3 separate regions of the Homo sapiens genome follow, and all the other regions are linked to region 1. Evidence: promoter capture Hi-C in 16 types of primary human blood cells and fetal thymus (Javierre and others, 2016). All regions are on one chromosome and are shown on one strand. The core of a region is centred on a gene start or on the middle of the fragment in contact, and the rest is flanking DNA. Distances in the headings are between cores, read along the strand shown.

Region 1 (4,420 bases), core at 607-3,106:
CCCCACTCAGAGGAAAACTTTGAGTTCCTGATCGTGTCCAGCACGGGTCAGACGTGGCACTTTGAGGCAGCCAGTTTTGAGGAGCGGGATGCCTGGGTCCAGGCCATCGAGAGTCAGATCCTAGCCAGTCTGCAATGCTGTGAGAGCAGCAAGGTCAAGGTAAGAGTTTGAGGTGGAGTGGAGGACTGGCCGCAGGAACTGACCCTGGTGCTGACGGCCATTGGCAACGACACGGCCGAAGTCGTGTGAGAGGAGAGCAGAGGTGTCTGAGAAGGAGGTGGGGCTTGGAGGCAGAGTCAGTGCCAACCCAAACCCTCTCTGCAGCTGCGCACAGACAGCCAAAGCGAGGCCGTGGCCATCCAGGCGATCCGGAACGCCAAGGGGAATTCAATCTGCGTGGACTGCGGGGCCCCCAGTGAGTGCCAGGAGGCAGCGGAGGGGCTAGGGAGTGTAGTGAATGCCGGGGTGCCTGTGCTGCCCGGCTGGGAGCCGACCTCTACGCTCCTTCCGCAGACCCCACGTGGGCCAGCTTGAACCTGGGCGCCCTCATCTGCATCGAGTGTTCTGGCATCCACCGCAACCTGGGCACACACCTGTCCCGCGTTCGCTCGCTGGACTTGGACGACTGGCCACGGGAGCTGACCCTGGTGCTGACGGCTATTGGCAACGACACGGCCAACCGCGTGTGGGAAAGCGACACGCGAGGCCGTGCCAAGCCCTCGCGGGACTCTTCGCGGTAAGCGTGAGGGAACAGAGCGGGGGGAGGGTTGCTGAGGGTGTGCGAACCTGAGACGGTCCCGTGGGTAGGGGCAGAAGTCCTGGCTGGGGGTCCCTAGAGCCTTTTCCGTTGATCCCTGGTCTTGCAGGGAGGAGCGCGAGTCGTGGATTCGCGCCAAGTACGAGCAGCTACTGTTCCTGGCGCCGCTGAGCACCTCGGAGGAGCCGCTGGGCCGCCAGCTGTGGGCCGCCGTGCAGGCCCAGGACGTGGCTACCGTTCTCCTGCTTTTGGCCCATGCGCGACACGGGCCGCTCGACACCAGCGTAGAGGACCCACAGCTGCGCTCCCCACTCCACCTGGCGGCCGAGCTCGCCCACGTCGTCATCACGCAACTGCTGCTGTGGGTACGTGAGCTGGGGGGAGGAAAGGGGGTCTTTGAGGCTTCATCTCGGAAAACGCCTGGCGCGGGAAAGCCCGAAATTCCCAGAGGGACCCCGGAAGTAGGCTTGGCCATGTGGGGGAGGCGGCGCCGGGTGTGGGCGCCCTGGGGACGCGCGGTCACGCGGCCGTTTCCGCCCTCTAGTACGGCGCGGACGTGGCGGCCCGTGACGCCCAGGGCCGCACGGCGCTGTTCTACGCCCGCCAGGCTGGAAGCCAGCTGTGCGCCGACATCCTTCTCCAGCACGGCTGCCCGGGTGAGGGCGGCAGCGCGGCCACCACGCCCAGCGCGGCCACCACGCCCAGCATCACCGCCACGCCCAGCCCCCGCCGCCGGAGCAGCGCCGCTAGCGTGGGCCGCGCCGACGCCCCGGTTGCGCTGGTATAGTTGCCCAGCGGGAGAGACACCCCCATCCCCACGCGGGCCGGGCACGACCACACCGGGCGGACCGCTGGACAGACGCACCCACTCACCTCTCCGATCCGCACCCCGCCCCACGGGAGCACTTCCTACCCCCACGAGGGCACAGCCCCCACGCCTTCCAGAAGACACAAACTCACCTCCCTCTCCCCAACGAGGCATGGAGACCCCAGCTCAACACGCCCCCTCTCCATTGTTTCCACACTCGGATTGCTCTGGGTCTACCCGCTCGGGGTTCGCGGAAGGGGAGGTCCCCAGCGGTACGGGCTCCTAGGCGCTTGGACATGCCCGCTTGTGCCCCCTAGGGGCGGAAAGAAGACCCGGTCCTGCCCGAGCTCAACAATCCCAGGGCGGGAGCCCATACCCAGGCTGGCTCCTGGGGCGACGCCACGCCAGAGGGAGGGTTTAGTACATGGGAGGGCTAGCCCCGGGACTTGGGGCCAATACGGAAACCCTACCCCTTCCATGCTCATCTCACTGCCCAGTGAAGGGGGCAAGGGCAGCGAGGGGCAGGACCCCTGCTGCTCATGGGGGTGGGGGTTCCCAACCCTTTCCGTGAAAGGGACCGTGAGTAGTGGAAACCAGGACGTCCCCTACACCTACCCATGGGTGGAAGCTAAAGAGTCCGGGGGGAACCAAGAGCCTGGGTCCCTCCCACTACTATCTTGGGAGGGAGAAGGGATGGAGCAGGAGCGGGCTAAGAGGGCTGCGGGGGCCTTGTAATTTATTGCTTTGTTCCCCAACATGGGGATGGGGGCGGGCAGGGGCGTGGGGAGGGCGTTTTGGGGTAGGGGAAGCCCAGGGTGGGCAGGGGGTGGGTTGGGGTGGGGGTGCTCTCGGGTTGTGTCTGTGACCGTGACTGCGTACCTGTGACTGTGCAGCGCCCGTGGTGATCTGGGGTAGGGGGCACCCCTACAGTGGGACCCCTCCCCCATTATTCTTTCTGTCCAGCCCCTCCCTCCCACTGGAGCAGCTCCAGAGCCATTCCTCACCCCCGTGACCTCTCCCAGCCAGGGCTGAGAGGATTCGAGGTGGCTGGGAGGGTTTCCAGGCCCCCTGCCCCTTCCCCACAAACTGGGTGATAGGGCGGACTTACCTGGCCCAGCCCTGCCTCCCTCAGCCAACCCAGCCCTTGGGCTGTCTGTGTCAGTGGTTTCCGGTCTTTTTTTTTTTTTTTTTTTCTGGCTAAAATAGTTTGCAAAGGACCAGGTAATTGGGGAGGGGAGAGAGGTGGGGGCAAGGGGGAAATGCCCCCCCATCTCCTTGGAGGCAGTGGTGTGAATCTTCTTCAACAGCAATTAAAGAGGAAGTGATTTTGTCTAGGGGGTGAGCTGCTGGTCTGTTCTTGGAGGCAGGTCAGGGCATGGCCTTGGTCAAGATGGGGTACTGGGGTTGGACAGGGACAGGCAGAGGTGCCTCCCACTGGGGCTGGTGGCAGGACAGTACCCATGGGCATGGAGGTGGTTCCATCATGTACAACAGTTCTGGGTTCATGTAGTGGAGGACGTGGGCAGGTTGGAGTCAGTGGGGACCCTGGGAACAGAGAAGGCACTGACTCTTAAGATGATGCCAGTCCTGGGAGAGTTGGGATATGGTACTTAGAGGAGAGGACAGGCCCATGGAGAGGGGTGGGAAGATGGGACAGCTTTGTTTAAGAGCAGGAACTTTGGAGACAGATCTGATTTTGAAACCTGCCCCTCCACTGCACAGCTAGGGGACCTTGGTGGCATCTGTTTATCTGTATTCTGAACAGTATCTGTTCAGAGGGCACCTGAAAGGCGCTCCAGCTCTGAGGAGGGCTGCCCCGAGCCAGCCTGCTCACCGTGAGCACTAGGTACCAGAGTAGAACATAGAGTAGGGGTTCCTCCCCTGGCCTCGTCAGGGGGTGTTCCAGAGGGAAGGGGTGGGAGACCTCCTGGGAAAGATTTCCCAGCTAGCTGCAGAGGTCCCTGGTGTCCACAAACTCAGTGTCAGCTGATGCAGGCATTTATCCACCTCCGTGCCATCAAAGGGACCACCAAGGCCACAGCGGCCTGAAGCCGGTGCTGCCTCCATGAGCTGCAGTGCCACTAGGCTCAGCACATAGCCAATCCTACCATTTCTCGAGGGCAGCTGAAAGTGTTTACTCAGGTAGAGGGGCTGGACAGGGTAGGGTTGGGTCAGCAGCCAGTGCAGGTTGGGCACAGCCATATGTTGTTATCTACCTTGAGGAGTTAGTTGGTAGCACCAGCATCTTTGGGTAGAATTGCTTCTGACCCTTGGTGCCCACCAGCCCCAAGAGGTTCAGCTGCAAGTGTGCCACTGAACTGAGGACACAGCACCAGACCTGAATCCAGTTCACATGGAGGCTGCGGCTCTACAGGGTCCTAGGCTGTGACCACCCAGCACAGCGGCGTGACCCAGGAAAGGTGGATTCAACAGTGCAGGTGCAGTGACAAGTACAGAGGCAGGTGTGTGGTCTGGGCAAAGCGACAAGAGGGGGGAGGTAGCAAAGAAGATTGGACTAGAGGACCTGGCCGTTCCCCCTTCACCTCCAAGACCCTGGACTCTCTTATTTCAGCTCCACTCCTTCCTCGTGGCCAAAGTTTGCTCCCTTCTTCAGAAGTTTGGGAGTGTGAGAGAATATGGGAAGGAAATAAGGACCCTGGAGAGAATGAAATTGCCTTCAAAGAGCAAGTGGGAAGTTCCTTTCATTTCCAGCCAGTGAAAAATGGTCAAGGTGTCAGCAAACCTCACAACAAATCCCAACACCAAGTAATCCACTTGCCTCTTGTCTTAATGGGGAGTGTCTTTGGTCTTGCGGGGGAGATGTAAAGGGTGGTAGTGGATGGAATGACAAAATA
Region 2 (4,420 bases), core at 601-3,100, 220 kb after region 1:
TATAAGAAACAAGTGTGGGCCGGGCGCGGTGGCTCACGCCTGTAATTCCAGCATTTTGGGAGGCCGAGGCAGGCGGATCATGAGGTCAAGAGATTGAGACCATCCTGGCCAACATAGTGAAACCCCGTATCTACTAAAAATACAAAAATTAGCTGGGCATGGTGGCGTGCACCTGTAGTCCCAGCTACTTGGGAGGCTGAGGCAGAATTGCTTGAACCTGAGAGGCAGAGGTTGCAGTGAGCCAAGATCATGCCACCGCACGCCAGGCTGCTGACAGAGCAGACTCTGTCTCAAAAAAAAAAAAAAGGAAAAAGACACAAATGTGGCTGAGCACCGTGGCTCACGCCTATAATCCCAACACTTTGGGAGGCTGAGGCAGGTGGAACACCTGAGGTCAGGAGTTCAAATCCAGCCTGGCCAGCATGGTGAAACCTCGTCTCTACTAAAAATACAAAATTAGCCGGGTTTGGTAGTGCGTGCCTGTAATCCCAGTTACTCAGGAGGCTGAGGCAGGAGAATCACTTGAACCTGGGTGGTGGAGATTGCACTGAGCTGAGATCGCGCCATTGCACTCCAGCCCGGGCAACAAGAGCAAAACTCCATCTCAAAAAAAAAAAAAAAAAGAAACAAGTGCAGATCTTTACAAAATAAATTTATTTGTGTGGCATAAACTGACTATATAAACATGGAAGGGTGATGGCTAATGGAGTGAACAGTTAGGTGGAGCTAATGAATGAAAACTTTCGAGTTTTTTGTTGTTGCTCTTTTTTCCATCTTTCAGAGAGGGCTTTGTAGTAGAGTTTTGTTGTTGTTGTTGTTGTTGTTGTTTTTGAGACGAAGTCTCACTCTGTTGCCCAGACTGGAGTGCAGTGGTGCAGTCTTGGCTCACTACAACCTCCACCTCCCGGGTTCAAGCGATTCTCCAGCCTCGGCCTCCTGAGTAGCTGGGATTATAGGCACGTGCCACCGCGCCCGGCTTATTTTTGTATTTTTAGTAGAGATGGAGTTTCACCATGTTGTTTAGGCTGGTCTCAAACTCCTGATCTCGTGATCTGCCCGCCTCAGCCTCCCAAAGTGCGCGGACTACAGGCGTGAGCCACCGTGCCTGGCTTGTTTTTTTTTTGTTGTTGTTGCTTTTTTTTTTTTTTTTTGAGACAAAATCTCGCTCTGTCGCCCAGGCTGGAGTGCAGTAGCGTAATCTCAGCTCACTGAAACCTCCACCTCCCAGGTTCAAGAGATTATCCTGCCTCAGCCTCCCTGGTAGCTGGGATTACAGGCACGCACCACCACACTCAGCTAATTTTTGTATTTTTAGTAGAGGCGGGGTTTCGCCATGTTGGTCAGACTGGTCTGAACTCCTGACCTCAGGTGATCCGGCCGCCTCAGCTTCCCAAAGTCCTGGGATTACAAGCGTGAGCCACCACACCTGGCCCCAAGTGAGTTTTGATCTGAGTTTTTGAAGGTGAGAAATTATAATTCCTCAGGACCTCTCTCCTGAACTCCATATGCCTAATATCCAACTGTCTACCTGACTTCTCTGCCTGGCTATCTAACAGGCATCTCAAGCTTAACAAACCCAAACAGTATGGCTGCATCCCACCTGAAAGCCTGTTCTCCTCACTCACGTTCACAGATGGTACTACCATCTACTCAGGCCAAAAACTTACAAGGCATCTTTTTCCTGACCATCCCAAATTCCAGTCTATCCAACTCCGTGGAGTTTACCTCCAAAAATATACCTCAAGTCTATTTTTTCTTTTCCATTTCTAGTGCTACTAACCTAGTGCAAGCCACCATTATCCCATTTCTGGGTTGTAGCCTTGTTGCCTCCAAATCCTTCTCCATACTTTTTTTTTTGGTGGAGGGGGAACAGTCTTGCTCTGTCACCCAGGCTGGAATGCAGTGGCAATCTTGGCTCACTGCAACCTCCGCTTCCCAGGTTCAAGAAATTCTTCTGCCTCAGCCTCCCAAGTAGCTGGGATTACAGGTGTGCGCCACCACGGCCTGGATAATTTTTGTGGTTTTTTTTTTTTTTTAGACAGAGTCTTACTTTGTAACCCAGGCTGGAATGCAGTGGCGCAATCTCAGCTCACTGCAACCTCTGCCTCCCAGGTTCAAGTGATTCTCAAGCTTCAGCCTCCCAAGAAGCGGGGATTACAGGGGTCCGCCACCACACCCAGCTAATTTTTGTATTTTTTTAGTAGAGACAGGGTTTCACCATGTTGGCCAGGCTGGTCTCAAACTCCTGACCTCAAGTGATCTGCCCACCTCAGCCTCCCAAAGTGCTGGGATTACAGGCGTGAGCCACCGCACCTAGCCATTTCTGTATTTTCAGTAGAGACAGGGTTGCCATGTTACAGGCCAGGCTGGTCTCAAACTCGTGGCTTCAAGTGATCCACCCAGCTTGGCCTCCCAAAGTGCTGGGATTATAGGTATGAGCCACCAATGCCCAGCCCCTTCAACATACTTTATTTCTTGCTTCCCTGCCATCCATTTTCCACAGAGCAGCTTGTCATTCACCAGAATAAAATCTAAATTCCCACAATGGCTTCACAGGCCCTGGTGATCTGGCCCCTGCCATCTCTCTCACCTCATCTCAGTCTACCCTCCTCCTCACTCACTGTGCTAGTGCTATACTGGCCTTGCCAATTCTGCCTTTTCAGCTCTTAGCTGCCTCATGGCCTTTGCATTTCCTAGTCCTTCCGCTTAGAACATTCTTAACCTCTTATTGCCTGGCTTGCTCCTAATTCTTTGGTTAAACTCTCAGTTCAAATGTTACTGCCTCTGAAAGGCCTTCCCTATCTACCTAAGTTAGATCTTCCCCCAGAAGTCACTCTCTGTCACATTTTCCTGGCAGTTTATTCTATATCATTTCCTTAGTTAGTGTTGGTCTCCTGACCATACTAAATAAAATCTGTCTTATTCATTGCCATACCCCCAGCACGCAGAATTGTAATTGGCCTATTCTAAGGATTCAAAAAATGTATGTTGAATAAATGAATGAAGAAATAAATTAACAAATGGCTAGAAGAGAAGATATTTAAAGAAGAGAGAAGGATCTAAACAAATGTAGATCAGGTGGTGTGATGCAAGACCAAAGGTTGGGAAATATAAACTCAACTTGTCTGTTTCTTAGCACAGTGCTCAGCACATAGTAAGTGCTCAGGGAGTATTTTTCAAATGAACTAAATGACGAGTTGCTGAGATGGGGCAGAAAGGGCCACTGGTTAAAGGTCTAGAATGCTAAAATAAAAATCCTAAATGGGACAGGAAGGGCGTCCCTTAAGAATAAGGACTGTCTCCTTCCGGGCTCCCATGGAGACCCTCCTCTTACCTTAAGCTCGACAGCATTGATGAGCTTGCCACACTTGTCACACTGGTCACCCCGAGCCTCCTCATAGCCACAGAAGGGACACACGCCCTCCACGAAGCGGTCAGCCAGGAAGCGAGCACAGTGCTCACATCGCAGTTGCTCCACAGTATCTTGCAGCACAAAACCTCGTTTCAGCAACTGCTGGAAAATGTCCTGGGTGATTCTGGTGAGGTGGGCCAGGGATCAGGAAGAGACAGTCAGAAGACGTGGTGGACCCCTTCCTCCTGCCACTCCAACCAGGGACCCAAACTCAGTGACAAAGAAATCAGGCAGAAGGCTCCTCAAGGAAAAGGGCATCTATTCATCTTTTGAGAGTTTTACTGGATGAGCTCAGACCCATCACACATATTCCCCAACTGCCCACATAATCTTTCCCCTCAACACTTTAGAATTCACTTTTGTTGAACACAGATTTATCTGTTTTGTATTTTTCATTAACAAAAATCTCCAATAGGATAGGACTGTGCCTGTTCTTTAATATATCCTAAAAATTAAGTCAGTCCAAGTGCTAAACTAAACTGCATAGCACTATCAGTTGGCGGCCTGTCTACTATGTAAAGTTTTGGGGGTTTTTTTGTTTGTTTTGAGACAGAGTCTCGCTCTGTCGCCCAGGCTGGAGTGCAGTGGTGCGATCTCAGCTCACTGCCTGCCTCAGCCTCCCGGGTTCAAGCAATTCTCTGCCTCAGCCTCCCAAGTAGCTGGGATTATAGGTGCCCACCACCAGGTCCAGCTAATTTTTGTATTCTTAGTAGAGATGGGGTTTCACCATGTTGGCCAAGCTGGTCTTGAACTCCTGACCTCGTGATCCACCCACCTCGGCCTCTCAAAGTGCTGAGATTACAGGCGTGAGCCACTGCGCCCAGCCCTTTTTTTTTTTTTTTTGAGACAGTCTCACTCCGTCACCAAGTCTGAAGTGCAGTGGCACTATCTCAGCTCACTGTAAGCTCTGCCTCCCGGGTTCATGCCATTCTCCTGCCTCAGCCTCCAGAGTAGCTGGGACTACAGGCGCCCACCACCACGCCTGGTTAATTTTTTTTTTTTTTTGTA
Region 3 (4,420 bases), core at 1,143-3,642, 140 kb after region 1:
ATTTATTCCACACTCCACTGGTATTTTTCCCCCTGCAGTTCTCCCTAACTGCTAAAAGGAGCTCAGCAGGTAAAGGGAGCAGGGCCTCTTTTCCTTGAAGGAGTCATGGGCCAGTGCAGCCTGCGCTTACCAGCTGGCATTCCCACTCAGCTTCCTTTCCTGACTTAGAAGTTGGGTGATAGGCTGCCCTGCCGCTGGAGAATCTTGGTCTTCCTCCTAGAAAAGACTGGATATCAGGACACCAGACTTTCTCTCCTGGTTTGGAATGGCTAGTGACCTCCATCCCTGCAGTTACCTAGAAAACCACCTTAGCACCATGTGGAAGGAAAGGACCGTCTGAAACTAAAACAACAGTCCTCTTCAGTATGGAGGGTGCTGCATATGGGCTGAGAATGGCTGGGAGAAGACCCCTCAGGGTCAAGCCTTAGAGCTTCCCACCTCTTGAAAATCCACCCTGCCCCTTTCTTTAAAGTGCACTTAATACCAGATGGGGACATTAGAGAAGGAACTCTTTGTGGAGAAAAAAAAAATGTACATTGGGGAAAAGTCAGGCTCCAGCTTGAAAGGAAGGCAACTAGAGAGATTTTGCCAATGAGCTGGAAGCCCCCAAACCAAGGGGTGGAGATGGGAGGAGCATGCCGCCCAGTATGGAACAAGAAAGAAATCCAGCTCATCACTTCAACTTGAGGGCACTGTGACAAAAAAAAAAGGCTCAGAAATTTCCCAGCCTATTCACCCCCAAACCCAAGGAATCAATCATTTTGACTACACCTGCCTGTAACCATCTCCATGGACAGATGAGCAGCCATTGACAGGCTGCTGGGAGCAGTCTGCCTCCTCCATTTTTCAAAATATTTTAAATCAGCTCTGGGTTCTGGTCATGAGCTCTGGGGCAGGGAATATCAAAAGGAGCTTGAAGAAAAAGGGAAATGGTCCCTTGAGCAACCCATTTCTCAGTCCAGGGGAAAACAGGAAGAGGGAGGCAAAAGGCAGACTTTGTAGGGCAGAAGTAACACCTGAATCCTTTGATTAAGGTGAGGGGTGTATGAAGAAAATTATATGTCTCAATTAGCAGCCCTTCCATTTTACCTTCCCCTGTGCTATATGTGAAAGAGGAGGGAGGAAGAGTCTATTTCTCTGTCTCATGATGCTAAGACATTCTTCTGCTTAAGGCTTTGTGTGTGTGCATGCGTGTGTGCATGTTTGTGTGCGTGCGTGCGTGTGTGTATGAAGGGTCACAACCCTCTAGCTCCCATTTTTCCTTTTGTCATCTCTGTGACCTCTACTCAGTGACTAACACCACTCAGTGTGAGACGAGTAGATGAGAAAGAAGAAACATTCACCCTCCTCCCTATTGCCCCAAATAAGGAAGGTAGACTATGCTTTGAAATTGCTAAATACATCAGTAGATACTTGAGAATAAGACAGAAGAGAGACATAGCAGCAGCTTTTGATATATAGATACAGAGTACAAAGAGATACAGAGTAAGTAAGAGAAGACATCAAACATAGTACAGTCCAACAACAGGGGTTGGGGAGGGAGTTAGTATCAGAGACCACAGGTTTGCAGCATGCTGAGAAGAGGCCTCAGTCCCTCTTAGAAACTGGGAAAGAAAGAGAAAGAGGGTGTGAGGGCCCAGCTTGTAGCTCAGTCACAGAACAGGAACAGGTGGCATCTGCACACACTTTGGTTTACTGTCCTGTTCCTTTAATACCAACAAGCAGACCCCCCTACCACCGCCCCCCGTGACCCAGGCTTGCACCTCCACCCCTAGGTCTCCCCAACTCCTCTTCTGCATTCCTACTTCTCTGCTTCTCAGACTTTTCTGCCTGTGTGTGCCTGGTTTACTATTCTGGGAAACCCCTGGAGAGGGCTCAGCTTAGATGCAGCCCAGTAAGAGACTGGCCATGTTCTCTGTGCCACTTCTGGGCCCTAAAGCAACCTTGGTGAGAAACCCAGTGACACACAAGAACAAAGAAGGTTCCTGTGCTGCTAGAGGAGAGCACCTGGGGACAGAGGAGGAAAAAGAGGGGCTTTGCCACCTCCACTGAGCAAGATGGGAGGGGAGCGCTGACTGATTTCGTGGGGCGTTTCCTAAAGCTTACTGGTGGCATATACAGATGGGAAGAGGATGGGACACAGGTGCAGGCGTGAAGCAAACATCGCCTTAACTGGAGATGTCTTAGTTCCAAAAACACCTATCCATCCAAAATTATTTCAGGGTGGAGGAAGAGGTGGGGTTGAGATGGCCCCCTAGGGTCTCCTGATAGATCTGCAGTCTACCACCCCTGTGGTTCTAATCTACAGCGGCCAAGCTCACTTCTTTGGACATGTGACAGTGACCCCTAGTGGCAAAAAGACAGTACTGTGGTTACCACTGTAGCCTAACGGAAAGCAAAAGGGGGCACGGGAGGTCAACGTCCAGATTACATGGGGCAGCACAGGTGTAGCCCCCAACAGGGGAAAGCAGGAGTTGAGGGGTAACTACATAATTAAAGTTTTGAGGTGATAAAAAAAAAAAGAAGCAGCAGCAGGAAAACCAAAGAGGCTGTCAGCAAGAAGGGAAGCAACCTGAGGCTGGTCCGAGGAAGCAGCCTGACGCTACCTGAAAGTGCAGGTATGCAGCCGTGGGTGTGGGAGATTAGCTGGCTGCTGTCTCTTGGTGGAGAGGGAAAAGCTTGGCCTGGTCCTCAGCCTCATAGCCACACGGCAGGTCACTCCTGGAGGAAGAGACCCACCATGATCAGCTCCATAGAAATTAAAGTATTCCTGTCATCATGGTTACTCTGCTCTGAGAGTGTCCCTGTGAGATCACAAACGGCAGGGACTATTTGTGTTTTACAGGAATACAGGGAAACTCAAGGCCAGAGGGATGTAAATGACTTGTCCAATGTCACAAGGCTTCCAAAGGTAGGAGAGAAACCCAGTCGTCAGATGCCCACGTTGTTTTCGTCCAGACCTTATCACTGGAATAGGGAGAAGCCACAGATGGGATTGGAGGAGGGGAGATATTCTGCACTGAGGCAGGGGAATGACTGGATCTCCTGGACAACACAGTGATGAAAAGAATGAGTCTCACTCCCTCCCCCTTCCCCAAAGGCTCCAGGAACCTCCAAGTGGGGCACAAGGGAAATTTAATCATTTCTTCTGGTCCCACCCAGAGAACCCAGGGGTAGTGGGGACTGTTGTACCTATTGTCATTGATATCTGTGGCATTTCCTGAAGAGATCATCATTGAGAACACAGGATTAGAAGAAGAAAAAAGGAGATTGGGTGTTAGAAACAGTTTGCGCAAACCCTCTCCCATCTTAATCCCTTAGAGAAAAAGATAAGCTGTGACACTTTCTCCTTAGTTATCCCAAGCTACATCATTATTTTGTTCGAGAAAAAGTTTCTGCAGCCCCTCACCAAGGAGAGGAAAAGGGAACTGGAAGGCAAGGGCTGGGATTGGCGTGGTAATAGGAGGAATCCACTCCCAGGCAGCCTGAGACCTAAAGGGCTGGGCAGTGCTCAGGCTGTAGGTACAGGGTCACTTTTTTCTTCATATGTGTTATTATTATTATTTTAGAGATGGGGCTTTACTATGCTGCCCAGGCTGAGTGCAGTGGCTATTCACAGGTGTATTCACAGTGCACTTCAGCCTTAAGCTCCTGAGCTCAAGCAATCCTCCTATCTCAACCTCCCAAGTAGCTAGGACTACAGGTGCATGCCACCACACCTGGCTATATGTATTTTTTTTTTTATTTGAAGCCTTGGCACACCAGAAAGGTTCAGTCAGTGTTTTTTGTACACTAAGGTCACTTACTTTTATGCCTCTCAACTTGCCCTGAGGACCCCAAAGGTGGGATTACCCATCTTTTTCACTCACCATTGTCCATGTTGGCCTTCTGGTAGGAAGCCAAGGGGCCGCCAGAAGATGTGGCTCCACTGCTGGTACAGGAGTTTGCAAAGCTGGATGGAGCAGAGGAAAGAGGCAGCCTCTGACACCCACCCTCCACTAGTCTGAGGACCACTAATCCACACTCATCCTCAGTGATAGAGCTGCTCAGCCCTCCCCATCCCCAGAGAGCAGAGGAAAACAAACATGGCCACAGGCTGGGAGGGCAGACACCTACCTTCTAATCATAGGCATGAAGTTGAGAAAGGGTTTAGGAAAATAATTAAGCCACAACCAATAACTGCCCCCACCCTATGCCTTCTAGGGTCCAGGGAGCTTTGGGTGGGACTCCAACCCACACGTGTGGTCACTCACTACATATCTGAGGTGGAGCTGGGTGTGGCCTGCAGGTAGAGATTCTGGTAGTTCTGGAAGAGGCTGTTGGTGTAACTGATGCACTCAGGGCTCCGGGTGCCATAGGGGTTGGTGGGTGAGGATGCTGGGTAGTGGCCAGGCCGGACGGGTTTGGCTGCAATAAAGAA

The links. Contacts are between HindIII fragments. The CHiCAGO score rates a contact against its expected background, and 5 or more counts as called.
Region 2: a contact is called between a fragment that was not itself captured here and the fragment with the promoter of AGAP2-AS1 in region 1, in 4 of 17 cell types (M1 macrophages, M2 macrophages, M0 macrophages and 1 more). The highest score is 7.2, in M1 macrophages.
Region 3: a contact is called between a fragment that was not itself captured here and the fragment with the promoter of AGAP2-AS1 in region 1, in 14 of 17 cell types (M1 macrophages, M2 macrophages, naive B cells and 11 more). The highest score is 19.3, in M1 macrophages.

The regions. Positions count from the first base shown.
Region 1 is chr12:57,723,676-57,728,095 of GRCh38, reverse strand. AGAP2-AS1 (AGAP2 antisense RNA 1) reads right to left here and starts at 1,856. Exons shown (of 2, transcript NR_027032.1): 1 at 1,718-1,856; 2 at 1-1,131. AGAP2 (ArfGAP with GTPase domain, ankyrin repeat and PH domain 2) reads left to right here. Exons shown (of 19, transcript NM_001122772.3): 15 at 11-159; 16 at 325-415; 17 at 514-736; 18 at 867-1,122; 19 at 1,302-2,899. The coding sequence ends at 1,544. RefSeq lists enhancers at 5-638, 639-1,274. The HindIII fragment of the contact is 18,142 bases long and covers 1-4,420 here.
Region 2 is chr12:57,499,437-57,503,856 of GRCh38, reverse strand. MARS1 (methionyl-tRNA synthetase 1) reads right to left here. Exons shown (of 21, transcript NM_004990.4): 10 at 3,335-3,536. Among named protein-coding and RNA genes, the nearest start is that of MIR6758, 11 kb to the left of the region's middle. The HindIII fragment of the contact is 564 bases long and covers 1,569-2,132 here.
Region 3 is chr12:57,581,402-57,585,821 of GRCh38, reverse strand. It overlaps KIF5A (kinesin family member 5A), which reads right to left. Exons shown (of 29, transcript NM_004984.4): 25 at 4,254-4,407; 26 at 3,870-3,952; 27 at 3,193-3,220; 28 at 2,607-2,721; 29 at 1-1,604. The coding sequence ends at 2,643. Among named protein-coding and RNA genes, the nearest start is that of PIP4K2C, 7.6 kb to the left of the region's middle. The HindIII fragment of the contact is 577 bases long and covers 2,104-2,680 here.